Regions from separate parts of the Homo sapiens genome. Here all the other regions are linked to region 2. The links are contacts of gene promoters, found by promoter capture Hi-C in blood cells and fetal thymus (Javierre and others, 2016). All regions are on one chromosome and are shown on one strand. The core of a region is centred on a gene start or on the middle of the fragment in contact, and the rest is flanking DNA. Distances in the headings are between cores, read along the strand shown. Region 1 holds the start of PLEKHA2 (pleckstrin homology domain containing A2). Region 2 holds the start of GOLGA7 (golgin A7). Region 3 overlaps TM2D2 (TM2 domain containing 2).

Region 1 (4,134 bases), core at 1,596-4,095, 2.6 Mb before region 2:
TCATCTAACTGGGGCCAGGTCCTGGCCAGGGACAAGTGTAGCAGTAAATGGGGCTCCAGTGAAGTATGAGCATCTCCCCGAGTGCACTGATGATGACCTTCCCTCAGCCCAACATGTTCCTGGCCTCCTCCCACTGGTGTCAAACTGTATCCATCTAAGTCCCATTTCAAAGCCCACTCCCTTCTTGAGCTCCCCCACCGTCCCCCCCCACCCCCCATCCCCCATTCAGAGACACATTTCCCTCTTTTTTATTTATTTTTTTTCTGAGACAGGTTCTCACTCTGTCACTCAGGTTGGAATGCAGTGGCATGATAATGGCTCACTGCAGCCTCAAAATCCTGGGTTCAAGTGACCCTCCCATTTCAACCTTTAGAGTAGCTGGGACCACAGGTGCATACCTGGCTAATTTAATATTTTTTATTTTTTGTAGAGATGAAGTTTCCCTAGTTGTCCAGGCTGGTCTTGAACTCCTGGACTCAAGGGATCCTCCTGCCTTGGTTTTCCAAAGTGCTGGGATTACAGGTCGTGAGCCACTGCCCCTGGCTATATCTTGTCCTTCTAAAAGTTGACAGCACTTACTCTCTGTGCCATTCCCAGGGCACAAGCCTGCTTCAGCCTTCTAGAGACACCTGTATTCTCTTGCCACCCAAGGCCTTCTGCTTCTCTTTGCCTCCCAGCATCCAAAACAGTAGTGCTCAGGAAATACTTGTGGCTCTGTGATGGAGTGACTCAGGCAGCCCCACGGGGAGTAGAGTTTTATGAGTTTAATATGAACCATACCCTGAAATCTGAGAAATTTACCTCATTGCTCATGCTGGAAACCCTCAGTTCCAGTCGGATTTGCTTGGAGCTGGATGGAATTGTGTTGCTTTTCATACTGAAAATGATCATCTAATTTTTAAATTTAAAAAACATTTACGTAGCACCTACTTCACGTTCGACAGGAATCTCAACACTTCACAAATGTTAACTCACTGACTTTTCCTAACAGAGGCATTGAGAAGTTAAGTAACTTGCCCAGGGGTCAAAGCCAGTAAACGGCAGAGCTGGGCTTCAAATCCAGGTTCCTTGCTTCCAGAGGAGATGCTCTTCAGTTTGTTCTGGTGCCTGAAACTTACAGATGAGTGGCAAAACCCTCCATGAACGGGGAAAAAAAAGACATTGATGTATTTATTTCAAGGGAAATGTGTGTGTGTGTGTGTGTGTGTGTGTGTGTGTGTGTGTGTGTGTGTGTTTTGCCCATCGTCCCCCTTTTCTTCCTCATTGAAAGCAAAATGCTCTAAAGCAAACAGTCTTTTTTCACACCTGAGACACCGGCGGTGTTCATTTTTGCTTTGGCAATCAAAATGGAAGAGGAAACTTGTGTGGTTTCATCACTGGTGCTTTCGGGGTGTGTGGGGCGGGCTGTCCTTCTCCCTCGGTCCTGGCTCATCGGCCCGAGCCCCCCTCCCCAGGCCTTGTGGCCTCCGGTCGGTCGTGGAGACATAAGAGGCCGCCTTTCCTCTGTTAACACCGGGAATGTGCCCCAGCCTCTCCCTCCTTCCTGCAAATCCAGTCCTTGTCCTGGAGAACCTCAGCGTCTTCTTATGCCTGCCTCTTTCAAAGCCTCGTAGGATTTACACCTGATTAACAACGTTTGCATTAGGATCGCCAGACACCGGCGCACGGCCCCGCAGGCCCGCGCGAATCTTCTACATTTTCATGTTTCGGATGTTGTCCACCTGACTTGATGCATATTCAAATGTCTCTCTCCCGACGTGGGAGGCCGGAGTCAGAACCTGACAGACCTGCCGTTTACTAACTGGGTACCCAGGGCAAATTACTTCACAAGTCTGAGTCTCGGTTTCCTCACCGTGAACCGGACTGGTACCCATAGGTTGCGGCGTGGATCAAATGAGATAGCGCAGGGGCGGGACCCGCGCACAGCAGCTCTCTTAGTTCCTCTTGGCGAGGTTTACGTAGTAACACATGCTTGTCTGTTTCCCATTTTTTCCCAGAGCACCCTCATGCTCTGGGGGCAGGAAGGGAGTCTTCGCATCACACCGAAAAAGTCCCAACGGGCACGGTGTAGGCGCCTGTGGTCCCAGCTACTCGGGAGGCTGGGGCAGAAGGATCGCTGGACCCAGGAGGTCGAGGCTGCAGTGAGCTATGACTGCGCCACCGCACTCCAGCCTGGGCGACAGAGCCAGACCCTGTCTTGATTAAAAAATAAAATAAAATAAAGAAATTAAAGTCCTTATAACCCTGGTTAGAGCGTTCCCGCCCACTGGTCTCTTAGGGCACATTTAGGACAACCTGAAGAAGCCACTCTTCTTGGGACCCTAACCCTTACCCCAACTCCTCGGTCCCCAAAGGCTAAGGGCTCGGGATCCGAAGGAGGCCCAGCTGAGGTCGCTGGGTGGGGCTCTGGGAGGAGGAAATGGGGTTCTTGAGGGAGCTCGCGCTCCAGCTCGCCTCCTCCTGCGAGGACGCCCCCTGCCCGGACACCTGCTGCCCGAGCGAGCGTCGGGGCCGGGCCTCCCCGCGGGGCAGTCTCGGCGCGCAGGTCCCACCTGCCAGGCGCGGAACGCGGGCGGCCTCGGGCGCAGCCTCCGGGCGCCCCGCCCCCGCCTCCCCCGCGCGGCCCCGGCGCCCGGCCGCACCCCCTCCCAGCCCGCGGCGCCCCGGCACCCCTCTCCCTCCCCGGCGGGCTCCGCGGAGCATTGTACTCACATCCGGGGCTGGGTTTTGCTTTAATGCGAAACGTAATTAACCCGGAAAAAAGAGCCGAGGGACGGGAGAGAAGGAGGGGGCACTGGGGGAGACCAGAGCGAGGGGAGCGAGAGGCGCGGAGAGTTTGGCAGGCAGACCCAGAAATCCCTGGAGCGCGGCGGACCCGGCGGCCGGAGGGGCGACCCCGCCCGATGTAACGCGCCCCGCCCGAGCCCCGGCCCCTGCACGGGGGGGTAAGTTGGGCGCCCTCGCGGGCTCGGGAGTGGAGAGGCGCAGAGGGGCGCGCGGGGGCTGGCGGGGCTGGGGGTGCAGGGGGCGCCCCGGCGGAGGCCTGGCGGCCTAGGGGCGCGAGGGGCGCGCGCGCAGGGCTGAATACGCCGGTCCTAGTGGCTGACAGGCGAGGGGAGGTGGCCGCAGACCCTGGAGGCCTCCTCCAACCCTCTGGGAGAGCCCCGAGGGCAGCCCCTCCTCCAAGTGCCCCGGGTGGCCAAGGTCGCCGCCGCCAGGGGTCGGGCTGCGGGGGGTGGGGCCGCGGAGAGGGTGGGGGCGGGAGTTCTGCTGAGCTGCATTTTCTCACGTTTGCAGCAGCGAAACTTCTCTGCGGGTTCTGGCGCTGGGGCACCGACCCCGCAACGACTGCCCGGGCTGCGGGAGGGGAGGAGAGCAGAGAACGTCCCCAGGCAAGTCCCTTGGGTACGGATTGGGCCATGGAGACTCCTCTTTCACTCCCCCGACTACCTTATTAAATGACAGGCCTAGAAGGCTCCCCTAGGGACTCCTGTCCTTTCCTCTGGGTGCAGCCTGGACTTCGGGCTTCTGGAACTCCAGACAGTGAAAAGGACTGCCCTAAAATGCAGGTTCGGTGCCAGGTTGGGTGAGCCCTCGAGGGGAGCTGTCGTTCTCTCTCTCACCAACTTCTTCCTCACCTTACACGCTTCCCTTTTCTCCTCCAGTCCTAAAGACGATTTCACCAAAATTTTTTTAAAAAGAAAGAGAAAAGAAGGGTGTGGGGGGGGGTGGTGGGAAGCTAGGCCGTTTAGAAGGGAAAAGTGTCCCTGCACGCCCAGAGAGGGGCGCAGGGCCCGCTGCGGCCGGAGCACCCTCACATCTCCTCCCCGGGGCCAGCCCTGCCCCCAGGCCCTAGCCTTAGGGTTTGGCTTCCTTCCTTCTTGGTGAACGCAGGTTCAGGATGTATCTTCCCCTTCTCATTCCTTCTTCCTGCCCGCCCCCTTTCTTTCTTTAGGGCTCCAAGTGGGGTTTTCAGAGGACAGTAAACGGCAGAGAAGAGGGAGGGGAGAGCACCCCACCAGAAAGCCAGCTGTGGCTCTGGGGGCTCTGAAGGCTGAGCTGTAGATGCACTTGGGGCTGAAGTCCCAAGATTGCACTAATGGTGTTCTTAATCTATCTGACCAAGTCCCATTT
Region 2 (3,773 bases), core at 959-3,458:
GCGTGAGCCACCGCGCCCGGCCCCCACTGATTTTCAACAGAGATACAAAGGCAATTCAGTGAAGAAATGAGAGTCTTTTCAACAAATGGTACGTAAACAACTGAATAACAACTGCATAATCATACGGGGGGAGGGAAGAGTTTCACTCTATACCTATGGGAGGCAGAAATGCCCTCCCCAAGAGGTCCACACCCTAATCCCCTCAAACCCCTAACGTGTTAAGAGAGTAAAAAGACAAATCACAGACTGTGAAAAATGCATGCAAATCACATATCTGATAAAGGATTTTTCTCCAGAATGTATAAAGAACTCAAAACTCAAAAACAGCCCGGCCAAGTTCTCACGCAAGTATAAAGGCCTCAGGAAAACATCTTTAAACATACAAAAATCCAAGAATTAAAGTGCCTTAAAAATTTAAAACTGACCTTAAGCCCAGCCAATAAAGATGTAAATCAAAACAAAATAAAACAAAAAACCCCTCAACAACAGGAAAATAAAATACAAACAAAAAAATGGGCAAAAGTTTTAAATAGACACTTCACCAGAGAAGATACATGGATGGCAAATAAGTACAGGAAAATATGTTCAAAATAATTAGTCATGGAAAAATGAAAATTATAGCTGCAGAAGATATTACTACCCAAGTCTTGGCAAAGATGTGGAGCAACTGGAACTCTGGTGGGAATGCAAAATGGTGTCACCACTTTGGAAAACAGTTTGTCAGTCTGCCAAAAAGTTAAACGTGTTTTTACCGTACAATCTAGCCATTCTACTCCTAGGTATGTACCCAAGAGAAATGAAAGCATTAAGGTCTACACACCTATGCAAAGACTTGCAAATGAATGTCCATAGCAGCTTTATTTGTAACATCCCAAAACTGGAAGCAATCCAAATGTCCATCAACAGATGAATGGATAAACAAACTGTGGGATGGCCATACAATGGAATAGCTATCCAGCATCAAAAATAAATGAATTATTGATAACACAACAACAGATGGACTTCAAAATAGTCTATGTGAAAGAAGCCAGGCAAAAAAAGGGGGTACACACTATATGATTCAATTTATATAAAATTCAAGGAAATGAAACTAATGTTGAGTGACAGAAGGTGGATCAGTGCCTGGGAAATGGGGTCTGGGAGAGGCAGGAGGGAGAGATTACACAGGAGCTGGAGGAACCTTTTCAGGGCAATGGAGCTTTACTATCTTGATTGTGACAGTGGTTTATGGGTGTATTCATATGTCCAAAGTTATCAAATCCACTGCTTTAAATGTGTGGTTTATTGTATGCCATTTATATCTCGAAAAAGCTGTTTTTAAAATACAGTAAGAGAATTTTTCATATTTAAAAGGCAGGATATTTAAACTATATTAAATATATAAAAGACAGTGGTACTAACAGGTTGTATTAGCAGGAGACAAGGGTAAGGTGGGGTTTCTTTGGCTGCCTTGCAAAGAAATGCTGAGTCAAGTAAGGGCCAGTGGGCAACGAGGGCGGAACCACTTGTCCCCTTGGTCACCTGAGGGATGTGGATGGGAGCTGGGTGGAAATGGGGGGTGAGAGGAACGCCGCCCCCAAAGAAGAGTCGGGGCAGGGGCGCCCAACGCTGGGGCCCAGGCAGGTTCTTCGTCCTCACTTCCTGACCCTTTCTCAAGAGTCTAGGGACCAAATGGATCCATCCTTGGAGCCTGCTTTCTACTTCTGAACACAATGAGCAGTTTGTGTTTGAGGGTTTGGGGAGGGGGTGTTGTTTTTTCTTTATGTTTTGTTTTTTGTTTTGTGTATGAGTTGGGTGGCATAACCCACACGTAAGCTGCGACGTCCAATCAAGAACGAAAATGACCCCTCACAATCAGTGATCGGGAACCACCTGCCACAATCACTAGGGAAGTGACACAGCCGGGAAACTCCGCCCCTCACACCCCCGCGCGCTCGCGCCGGCCGCAGCCCCACAGCTCGCCCCGGCCGCAGCCCCACAGCTCGCCCCGCCTCTCTCCTTCCGGAAACAATCCCCGCGCGGGCGGAAGGCGGGGTCGGCCCTGGCCCCGCCCACATCATTTCCCTTCCTCGGCCCAGCCCCACAGCGCGCAGCTTCGGCAGGGTGGCTTTACGGCCGGAGGAGAGGGTGGGTCCCAGACCTGAGGTAGGAGGCCGAGCTGAGGGGCGGGGAAGAGGCTTTTTGCGGCAGGACGTAAGTGACGGCGAAGGCGGTGCGACAGCAGCTGGAGGGCAGAGGAGGCGGGTTTGTGTTTCCCGGGCCGAACCGGGTTGTGGGGGGCGCGGGGCCTGGGCCAGGCGGCAGCTAAGGCCCGCGGTGACAGCATGGGTGAAGGGGAGCGGGGCAGAGGAGGCCTTGGGCTGTTTTCGGCGGCGGGTGGGGGCGAGGGGCTGGCGGGTCAGAGTCCCGGGTCCAGGCCGGGGCTCTGACTCGCGGTTGGTGTTCCCCCGACCCCGCAGCGCGGGGTGTCCTGTCCTCGCCATGAGGCCGCAGCAGGCGCCGGTGTCCGGAAAGGTGTTCATTCAGCGAGACTACAGCAGTGGCACACGCTGCCAGTTCCAGACCAAGTTCCCTGCGGAGCTGGAGAACCGGGTACGCAACCTGGCTCCCCACGCCTGCTCTGGCGAGGGAGAGAGACTCACCGGGGACGGGAAGGGTGTGGGCGACAACCGGGCCTTTGAGGGTCCCGCAGTTCTGGGGAGGTCCAGGCACAGAAGGGGCCTTGGCCAAACGTGTAAGAAGAGAGCCACTAAGCAAGACAGGTGTTTGGAGCAGGAAGAATAATATAGGCCGATCGCCGGGGTTGACGACCTTATGGAACTTTGTTGCCCGGTGCCGGGAATCTGGATCCAGCAGTGTTCCCCTGCTGCACTCCCCCAAATCCCCACCCCGGGTTATTGTCGGCAGCGATGAGGAGCCAATTCCTGAGGCTCCAGGTCGTCTCAGTCACCAGGTTGTAAACTATATCCTCCTACCTCTCCGCGCAAGATAAATCATCATCATTCTCGTGACTGGTGTTTGCTGCCTCTGTGCTGGCCGCACTGTTTGGCTGAAAGGGTTTATTAGGTGCATGGCCAGGCGGTGCGTTCAGGCTTTCTTGGAACCTTAAAGACGTCGGGCGTTAGATAGGCCTGGACAGGAAAATGTCTCAGAACAAGGCCTTAAACTTGTCACATTCACTGGGAGCCACCTGTTTTGTCTTGCATATCAAAATGGTCATCAGGATATAGGTCCTTTGGGCAACATTGCAGGCAAAAATGGAAGAATGGGATTTGCTTCCCCTTCAGACCTAGCAAAACTTTAAAAAAAAAAAAAAAATCATTGTATCTTGTTGTAGAGGTAATGGAGTGTGTGCGTGCCTGCCTGTGTTTTTGTGTGCCCACATATGTACATTCAACCAAAGATTCTTTTGGTCTTGACCCATGTTATGTAGATTGTGTTTCCCGTTCAGGGATCAATTTCTGGTTAGCTGGAAGCAGGTTTTGTGGCTCTCTCCTCTGTGACAGGGAGGACGAGGGCCTGAGAGGTGATTAGGCATTCCTTGGGTGTGGGACTGAGAGATGCTGGTCATGGGATAAGTGGGTGTGGATGAGTCTGTGTAGAGAAATGTGTAGCAGTTATTTACAGTCAGTTTGCAGTGAGGTGGGTTGCACTGCCCGATTTCCATGGTTGGGAAATCAACAATGATCCATTATAGTTTCCTTCAGTTTGACATAACCATGGGCAGCTTCATGGCCCAAATATGTTTCTTGAATTGCAAATGGATCAAATAT
Region 3 (3,909 bases), core at 635-3,134, 2.5 Mb before region 2:
ATTACAATTAAAAAATAAGAAAAATGGAGTTTGAAACACATATACACATTCAGGGATCATTAGGTTGGGGTACTATACTGTTGCTAAGATGCCTGACTATGTCAAGTGGAAGAAGAACACAGTGCCAGGAAATCTGGGGGAACTGATAACATTTTATTAAAGGCAAGAAACAACTAAAAGGCAGGCAGCTTCTAATTTAACCTTGAGGGAAGGACACTGTAGTATTTTAAACCTTCTCTATAGCCATAAACTAGATATAACACACACATATACAAATGGATCTGTCTACCAAAATTTAAGAAACAACCTGAATAAAGTGCAAAGGCAATCAATTGTTAAATAGTACTCCTTTAGTCCATCAGGTTTTCAGGTTGTATCACATTTGGCCAGGTTTGTGGGCAGATGGATGATGGGTGTCATTTACAAGTCAAATGAAAACCAGTAATTTTGGATTGTCACATAGGAATACTGATGATTCTCAAATTACCACTCTAGCAGCGAGAACAACTTCTTTTGTCTCCAGCAGCTTTACTGACAGTAAGAAGGGCATCTTCAGTAGTTTCTAGTCTTTTAGCCCTTCAACCAAGCTCTTACCCCTGGCAACATAAATGACTTCAAGCCTTGGAGCTGCAAAATTTCTTTTTTGGTCAGAGTCTCACTCTGTTGCCCAGGCTGAAGTGCAGTGGCAGGATCTCGGCTCACTGCAATCTCTGCCTCCTCAGTTCAAGTGATTCTCTTACCTCAGCCTCCCGAGTAGCTGGGATTACAGGTGCACGCCACCACGCCCGGCTAATTTTTGCATTTTTACTAGAGACTGGGCGGGGGTGGGGGAGTGTGTCTCACCATGTTGGCCAGGCTGGTCTCGAACTCCTGACCTTAAAGGATTCACCTGCCTCGGCCTCCCAAAGTGCAGGGATTACAGGCTTGCACCATTGCGCTGGCCCTAAAGTTTCTTATTTTTTAAAGAAAACAACTTTTGGTAGGGTTATGAATATACTTAGGAGGTTAAAGTGTGAAATGAGGCAGGACTTGGTTAGGTGAAAAGTAGCATCTTATTTTGGGTAATATTATAATTTATGTTTTTTAGACTTCCCTTAGAAATTTTTTTAAAATATACATATGGCATCCTTGAACTCCCTTAAACTCTTTTATTTGTATAAATTTATAGGGTACCAGTACAATTTTATTTCATGCATAAATTGTGTAGATGAACCCAAGTTCTATGTAAATTCTGTGTATGTAGATTTTTCTGGGGAGAGGGTCTAGTTTCTTCATGACCCATAAAAATTTAATAAATACTATCTTAGGGTATAAAGATTATGAATTAAAAGTTTACCAATTGTTATGTTATAAGCAAGGTTAAGGTCAGTGTGGTACAGAACTTTCAAGACAGAATAGGATCATCTGTTTTAAATTTTTTACAGAAAATTGCCACCTTTAATAATGTAAAAACAGTGATTAATCAGGAATGATAAAGCAAGAAATTCTTAGGAAAGCTACAAAATGATAGAATGTATCCAGGGAAGTTATTTCAACTGTGATATTTGGTCTTAAATTCAATTATTATTAGGTAAACTGAGTGAGTTCTACCTTGTTTCTAGAATTTGTAAGTTATTCTGAGTAAAGCCTCTTCCATTGACTTGGCCACATTGCCCACCTTTGATTTTATATTTAATAGTTCTTTCAACTTAGATTGCAAACGATGAGAACTGAGTTTTTAAAACCACTTACAATCTGGAACATTTCCTTTTATTCCTGGTGACCGGGGAATGCAGAGGTGTGGCTGTTATCTCTTTCTGACTGCTGCAGCCCACAGGGAGAGCTAATCATGAAGAATAGTTTTACAGAAACTTGTATGAAATCTTAATTTTATTAGCATGGGCTGGTAAACGCTGATTTTTAGATTGGACAATTCTGCCAGGAGGAATAGCTCAACTCACACATCTGATGCCGCTGGCTTTCAAAACATAAGTGGAATGAAAAAATTATTGCACTGCATATACTGCCTCTGGAACATAATGGAGACAAAAGAGGGCTTAATAGGATGGCTCATTTCAAATGACTAGGTTTCTGCAAAACAAATATAATTTTGAGTTTATTCCCCCTACTGAAAATACTCATACAGTACTCCAAGTTGGTAAAATTTATTCTACATTTAAATTCAGAAAGTCAGAATTTCAGTGTGTATTACAATCCACGGCCATTTCTATTTCTGCTGAAGATTTTCATTGTTCAGCTTCAGATCTCCTTGCATGAAGACTCAGGGTCACAAGAGGAACATGGATCCAAATATTCATTTTGCTCAACTTGTTAGGTCCACTTGCTCCAAAGGACTGAAGATATAGCAATGTACAGAAAGGAAGACTATGGAAACCCATCCACAGCTTGTAAACTCGCCACTATCCTTTATGTTTTGTGCATGAGGAAAGGAACAAATTTGATTCCCCACAACACTTTTTGCTTGTCATTCCGTCTGCAAGGTAAAATCTGGGTTGAAATTCCAAAGTCCAAAGAAGCCTTCTTAACCAAACAAATGCCCTCCAAAAGAAGGAAAATAACATCAGGTCTGATATCAAAGAGGAGTTTTGAGCCTGTAGAGATGAATTCAGAAGACGGAGCTTTCACCCGCCTCCCTGGGCCATGATGGCAGCTCTTCTTAGTAAACAGTGCACCAGTTGCTGCCATCACTTGGCATCAGCCCTCCAGTAATTAGCAAAATAAGGTCAACAAACCACCAAATCCCAAGTCCTCCAAGCGTCAACAGCTTCCCTACTGCAGTGCCAGTGTGTCCCAAACAGAATCGATCCACACCAAAACATCCCAGGAAGAAGGAGTAGAGTAAAGTGGTTATGAAGTAGTGTCCGGTATACCTAGGTGAAAGGAATGAAAAGGAAGATGTTTTACTGCACGAAAATTTAAACCCTTAAGGATTAGTGAATTTAACGTAAGTGATGAGACAGTGCAGTGGACCCTCTGTGGCCTTTTACCCTCCATTTTGTTTTCTTTTATGATATGGTCAGTGAGGTGAGAGGATCAGGAAAAACCAAAGTTTATTATACTCATAGGTCCCAGAGACAGGAGGCACATCATGTTATACAAGGCTACCTGGCAAAGATACCAGGGTGGTTGGAAGATAGAAGGGAGGGGAAGGTTTTTGGCCACTATCTTCATTGGGGTTTCTGCAGGAAAGGCAAGACAGGGCAGGGCGAATAGTTTAGAACTGGCTAGTTTGAATAACCTCAGCAGGCTCTAAGCTATAGGAGTGGTCCCTGGTTGCCTGGCACTTGGACCTGAGAAGACTAAGGCAGAGGAATATTATTTCCTGGGGTGTACAGGCCAGAAACAGAAGATATGTCTCTAGACTAGTTTGCATATCAAAGGCATGCTGCTGGTTGGGCCCTTTGCTATCTCTAAGAAATGACTAGCTTCAGGAAGAGCAGTCTCTTCACAGCCAGAAAGGTTTTTAAGATGTCAAACATCATAATGTACAATAATTTAAAAAACTTTTTGACCATGGTGGTGGCTGATGCCTATAATCCCGGCACTTTGGGAGGCCAAGATGAGAGGACCACTTGAGCCCAGGTGCTCCAGGCCAACCTAGGCAACATAGCGAGACCCTGTTTCTACCAAAAAAAAAAAAAAAAAAAAAAAAAAAGGCCAGGTGTGGTGGAGCACACCTGTAGTCCTAGTTACTCGGGAGGCTGAGGTAGGAGGATCGCTTGAGCCCAGGAGGTCGAGGCTGCAGTGAGCCCTGTTTGTCTGTTTGTGCCATTACACTCCAGCCTGGGCAATGGAACAAGACCCCATCTCCAAAAAAAAAAAAATACGCATTTTTTTATAATACACCCTCTTCACCTTTACTTTACTCTCCTCTAAGAATCTCTAGTTGGTAGAGGGTCTCAACAGAAT

Evidence for each region. The method cuts DNA at HindIII sites, captures the fragments that hold promoters and counts their contacts. A CHiCAGO score of 5 or more calls a contact.
Region 1: the fragment with the promoter of PLEKHA2 here is called in contact with the fragment with the promoter of GOLGA7 in region 2 in 1 of 17 cell types (naive CD8 T cells); the score reaches 7.9 in naive CD8 T cells.
Region 3: a contact is called between a fragment that was not itself captured here and the fragment with the promoter of GOLGA7 in region 2, in 1 of 17 cell types (neutrophils). The highest score is 5.2, in neutrophils.

Annotation. Positions count from the first base shown.
Region 1 is chr8:38,898,501-38,902,634 of GRCh38, forward strand. It overlaps PLEKHA2 (pleckstrin homology domain containing A2), which reads left to right and starts at 2,846. Exons shown (of 12, transcript NM_021623.2): 1 at 2,846-2,945. It overlaps LOC124901937 (a long non-coding RNA gene), which reads right to left and starts at 2,945. Exons shown (of 2, transcript XR_007060893.1): 1 at 2,713-2,945; 2 at 750-2,196. RefSeq lists enhancers at 1,258-1,447, 1,508-1,757 and silencers at 2,358-2,767, 2,848-3,517. The HindIII fragment of the contact is 6,068 bases long and covers 1-4,134 here.
Region 2 is chr8:41,488,374-41,492,146 of GRCh38, forward strand. It overlaps GOLGA7 (golgin A7), which reads left to right and starts at 2,209. Exons shown (of 5, transcript NM_001002296.2): 1 at 2,209-2,592. The coding sequence starts at 2,482. RefSeq lists a silencer at 1,840-2,099 and enhancers at 2,150-2,279, 2,570-2,679, 2,730-2,839. The HindIII fragment of the contact is 7,658 bases long and covers 1-3,773 here.
Region 3 is chr8:38,988,676-38,992,584 of GRCh38, forward strand. It overlaps TM2D2 (TM2 domain containing 2), which reads right to left. Exons shown (of 4, transcript NM_078473.3): 4 at 133-2,870. The coding sequence ends at 2,657. Among named protein-coding and RNA genes, the nearest start is that of TM2D2, 5.9 kb to the right of the region's middle. The HindIII fragment of the contact is 6,930 bases long and covers 1-3,909 here.